Regions from separate parts of the Homo sapiens genome. Here region 2 is linked to region 1. The links are contacts of gene promoters, found by promoter capture Hi-C in human tissues and cell types (Jung and others, 2019). All regions are on one chromosome and are shown on one strand. The core of a region is centred on a gene start or on the middle of the fragment in contact, and the rest is flanking DNA. Distances in the headings are between cores, read along the strand shown.

Evidence for each region. Contacts are between HindIII fragments. The study calls those that stand out against the background at their distance.
Region 2: a fragment that was not itself captured here is called in contact with the fragment with the promoter of TFAP2B in region 1 in 2 of the 25 tissues and cell types used here (small bowel and spleen).

Annotation. Positions count from the first base shown.
Region 1 is chr6:50,817,445-50,820,144 of GRCh38, forward strand. It overlaps TFAP2B (transcription factor AP-2 beta), which reads left to right and starts at 1,427. Exons shown (of 7, transcript NM_003221.4): 1 at 1,427-1,528. The coding sequence starts at 1,448. It overlaps LOC124901490 (a long non-coding RNA gene), which reads right to left and starts at 1,582. Exons shown (of 2, transcript XR_007059923.1): 1 at 1,458-1,582; 2 at 1-200. The HindIII fragment of the contact is 7,987 bases long and covers 1-2,700 here.
Region 2 is chr6:51,109,224-51,111,923 of GRCh38, forward strand. No RefSeq gene overlaps it. Among named protein-coding and RNA genes, the nearest start is that of TFAP2B, 290 kb to the left of the region's middle. The HindIII fragment of the contact is 5,060 bases long and covers 1-2,700 here.

The DNA of each region.
Region 1 (2,700 bases), core at 177-2,676:
TCCCTGTTCGCGCAGAGCTGCACACAGCAGTCCTGGATTTAAAGACAATCACCCTTTGCAGATTCACTCTCACCAGGCTTAATAACTTCCACCCCAAATTGCCCCATCCCTCCTCGGTCCCTCCTGGCATTTCTTTTCTGTCCCAGGCGCAGAGATCCTCTTCTGGGCGTCTGTTCCGGCTATGAGAAGCTCTCCGCACCCTGAAAGGGAGTAGAAAAACAGAGGGGATGGGAAAGGGGGAACAGGGGAACAGATGAGTATTCATTTCATGATAAAATTCAGAATCCCTGCGCCTTAAATGGTGCCCATTTTCTAAGTCTGGTTAATATTGTTCTTGTTGCTGATGATGTTTTCCTTTTTAAAAACTATATGAATCATCTTATTAAGAAAAATTATACAAAAAAAAGAAGAAACTCCACATGCACTAAAATATTTTTCACTATCTCTTTGAAGACATTCTGCTTAAACCTTTTCAAAGATTCGGGTGGCCCTTTCTTGACTCTCCATGATTAAAACCACTTACAAGTCATACACAACAGATGCAAATATAAAATGTCCTTGGCCTCTGCAAAAAAGGCTCAAAATTAACCTTGTCTGAACGTGTGCGTACGTTGCTTCCAACATCTGAAAAAAACTTGATAAAATGGAGACTCCAGCCAAGAGGAATGGTGCATGGAATCCGTTGAAAATGCATACAAACAACACCTAAAATAACAAGCAGCACAAACTGAGGTGTATTTAAGTTTCCAAAGGTTTTAGGTAAAATGACCAGAAAATATTAGAAATGGTCATCAACGGTGGCTAGCTTTTTTGTTCTATGGTGACAGAGATAAAGTTAAAAAAAAAAAAGTTGTGTAGCCATCAACACAGAGATAGTCCTTAAAATCCCCCATATCCAGCCTTTCAAAATACTCTCTTCCGGAACATACATGAATAGGAGGGAGCTTTTGTGTTTAAAAATCTTGGTAAGTGTCCCCCTTTAAAATCTACATAGAAAATAGGGGACTGATGGCCCCTGGTTTCTCATTATGAATTGCAAAGACTTCAGTTAGTGGCTACAATGATGTGTCATTTTCGATATAGAAGTTATAAAATGTATATATTATATTAATCACCCTGAACAACTCTTTGTTAAATGCACATTTGGAGTCTGCAGACTGTGTGACCCAGAGGTGCTTATATAACTATATGTGGGTGTCTGGGTGTAAATACGGGTTTATGATTTTTATAGTATATATGTCTGTGGGTTGCATCTAACTCCTGTGTGTGCAATAATGTTTTTTCTCTTTGCTGAGGCTTACTTGTCCAGCCTATTGTTTGAGACAACAGATATAAGTTGCGATGGGAGAGGAGCGTCGGATTTGGTGTGTATCCCCCATTTCCAATTATAGATGGATCATTACAGACAGCGGAGTCCTGAGAAGCCAGACATCTGCTCCTCACATGAATGCACTCACCTCCTAGAGACCAGGCTGCCATCATGCTCTGGAAGCTTGTGGAGAATGTCAAGTACGAAGATATCTATGAGGTGAGTCGACACCCCCAGATGCACCTTAGAGCTTTGCAGATAGAGAATTTGAGCTTCTTGATACCCCAAATGATATATATTTTTAAGCTATTTACTCGTAGATTTCCGGTCGGTTTTCTCAGCTTTTTTTAACTTTTAGAAAAGCTGGCTAGGGAAGACTTCGCTGCTCTGAAAAGGGACTTTAAGGCTGAAATCTGACAACTTTAATTTAGGAATGTTTTTATTTATTTTATTTTTCTTTCCCTTTTCCTCGCCTCCCCCCACCCCACCCCACCCTTTTAAGCTCTGATGGGGAATGTGGTGCTACTGAATGTGGGCACGCTCTCAGAGAAAATCGAGATTCTGATAAAGTCAGGGGCTTTTCTCGTTTTAAGTGTGGAAGAGAATTGGGTTTTCAAGCCTCATTTGTAACAGACTCGGGCTTTTAATTTTTATTTTCAATAAAATTTCTGAAATTGATAACAAATGGTTCCAAGTAGAGGACAGAGAATTAGCGGGAAAGAAGTAGATGGCTGGAGATATGGATGGATAGAGCAAAATAGAAGTCGTAGCAGTTTATTAGTTTCTGTTTTCTTGTGTTTTGCTTCCTTGAGGGTCACTGCGTCCGAACAGAAATCGCAGCCGCCTCCTGTGTGGGCATCTTTCACGGAAATTTCTGCCCACGTTCAATGCGTACGGGTCTCTAGCACTGAGGCTAGCTCAACTCTTCGGGGCAGGAGAAGTTGCGCCCAGCCAGGAGGACGCCAGCCGCCTCCGGGGCCCGGACCGCGCTCGCCAAAGCCCTTTTCCGGCTCGGGCGAGGGCTGACGCGGCCAGACGGCTCCGCTACTCGCGGGCGAGGCGGACTAGGCGGACGAGGCGGCCGAGGCGGGCGAGGTGGGAGAGGCGGGCGAGGTGGGAGAGGCGGCCGAGGCGGGCGAGGCGCGGGGCGCGCGGCGGGCCAGGCTGGGGACCGGGAAGCCCGCGGAGCCTCGCTTTTAAGCGGAATGGTCTGGGACAGCCCCAGGTGGTTGCCAGGGGAAGGGAGGAAGGGAAGGTTCTGCTGAGACGTCGAGGTTGGAAATAAAAACTTCGGAAAGGCGAAGCGGATTTAGAAAAGGAGGGAAGTCGAGGCGGGCGAAGCGGGCCATGGAGATTGCTAAGAGGAAAAGTTGGAGAGAAAAGGAAGGAAG
Region 2 (2,700 bases), core at 99-2,598, 290 kb after region 1:
AAGTTATGGCTCTGCTTGTCAAGCTGAGGACTTTAATTATTCTGATATTTTTAATTATAATCAGCTGCTGAATGAGTATTACATTGTCAGCTACTATCGCTGAAACTAGGCTGGGCAAAGGGGCTGGAGGAATTATGGGGACTTGCGGCTGTTCTTCCTACTAGCAAGGGAAAGGTATGGCCCAGCCACCCGGAGGAAGAAAATCTTCCAAGAGCAAGTCTTTAAAAGTGCACACAGAACTGGGTAAACCACAACAATTCAGGTTGGTTTGCCAATTAAAGACTGAAGCAGAAACTTCTCCAAAGCAGAATGAGAAAACCAGCCTCGTGTTCACTTCTATGGTTGGCAAGAAGCCTTATAAGATGATCATACCAATGGACTGGACTTAGCCAACTAGACTTTTTTTTTTTTTTTTTTTTGGAGACAGAGTCTTGCTCTGTCTCCCAGGCTGGAGTGCAGTGGCACGATCTTGGCTCACTGAAAGCTCTGCCTCCCAGGTTCATGCCATTCTGTCTCAGCCTCCTGAGTAGCTGGAAATACAGGCGCCTGCCACCACACCAGGCTAATTTTTTTTTGTATTTTTGGTAGAGATGAGGTTTCACTGTGTTAGCCAGGATTGTCTTGATCTCCTGACCTCGTGATCTGCCCACTTTGGCCTCCCAAAGTGCTGGGATTACAGGCGTGAGCCACCACGCCCAGCTGACATTTTTTTTTTTTTTTTAAATGAATACTAGTGTTAGCTTCCTGGAGCTCTGTGTAAATTGTTTGCTATAAAATTGGGCTTATATGACTTTCTGCTTTTTCCCTAAGTGGCAAGTTAGGAGACTTAGTATGCATGTCCTGGAAACTGCTATGTGTGTGCCAAAGAAAATTATTAATATTAAATAAATGTGCCTAGCACATGGTACATAACCAGTAAAAATGTATTGAATGAATTGTGACATATTGGTATATAATACACAATAACTAGCAAATACAAGTGTACTACCACAGCAGCTAATTTCACAAGATATCTGGGGATTTCTGCTAGAATAACAGAAATAAGAATCAAACCCTTTATCTTGGACATGATATTTAAACAATTGTCAGAAACACAATGAAAAATAATACCTCCAAATAATTCATTGAAAGATGAAACATGGTGACTTTTCCCTGTTGCTTAAAGAGCTTAAAACTTCTCTGTTCTCTTTAGATAATTACAACAAAGAAACTCTGAGCATAAGTGATGTTAAAGGTTCCAAATGACTTACAAACTGGCAAAGGCCCGCAGATTTAATGTTAAGGCATTACACAAATGTTGTGCTGATTTCTTTTCTTTTTAAAGATGCCCAGGAGTGAATTCACAGATTCTCAATCACACAGACACTCTATGAGAATCAGCAGTGTTTTCTTTGAGAATGTGGTTTAGGAATGAAGAAAGTCATTTAGCCCTTCATTATTGCAAAAATGCTCTGCATTTAGCAGTCTCTGTTTTCCTATATTGTACAGAAGAGGCAAATAAAATCCATAAAATCATAGTCTATTAGGACCAGGAAGAGACCTTTGAAAGGGGCAGCAGTGTGTATAGTATTTTAGAGGATATACACCCGTATTTGATTTATTTAACAAACTCTTGCATAGACTTTGTCTTGTGCCAGGCATTGTTTGAAGCACTCCTAAACAACCATAAAAGAAGCCCCCATATTACTGAGGCACATGGATTAAGGGACTTGACCAAGGTAACACAGCTAGCACGTGGTGGGGCTGGGAATTGAGCTCTGGCCTAAGAGGCTATGTTCCTCACAGCTGGGATGCAGTGCCTCACATGGTGTGACTTAAATCTTGGCCTCTTTTGGTCCTCTGTGTCTTCATCTGTTAGTAGGAAATAATAATAGTATTTGCATCATAGTGTTGTTGGGAAGATTCAATGAAGAAATGTCAATGGGACATTTCACATAGATCTGAAAATACAGTACATGCTTAATAATACTTGCGCCATTTAGCTAGATATCAGGTCCAACCTCCCAATTTTGCAAATGAAGGATCTAAGGAACAGAGGTTAAGTGACTTGCTCAAGGTCACTACATCAGCAGGTACCCCAGCTAGGAGGAGAATGTTGGACACCTGATTCTCAGTCCAGTGCTCTGTCCACTGTCTACATCATGGCTCTTGGAGTCACTAACTTGTCTTCCAAGTTGCTTGGGACTTTCCTGATTTTTGGATTGACAGGCAAAATCAATAGTTGGTCACTCTAGTTCTCATGTAATTTTACTCTGCAAAGGACAGGTAGTCTTGCCTCTTTCCCTAACATCTGATTTCTTGGGAAAAAGGTACCTGGGCTTGGGAAGGACACAGACAACTGTTAATATCTTTATACCAAACATTGGTGAGAAAAGCTCTATATAATGATGTGCAAATCTCTTTACTATCTTAACAGATGAAATTGGCTGATTTTTGTGACTGCTCTTATTGAATATTCCTGTGTTGACACAGCATAAATAAAATATCATAGGAGTTACAGCATCATGATATTGCTTTAATTACATATTGCTTTACATTTTCAAAATGATTTCCAGTGCATTATCTTACTTGGTCTTGTTTTGTTTTTGCCATGTTCTTTTCCATTTTACAAATGGGGAGAGGAGGGCTCAGATAATGGTGACTTGCTTAAGGTCACAAACCTGGGCCCCTCACTCAAAGCCTAATGCTTTTTTTTTTTTT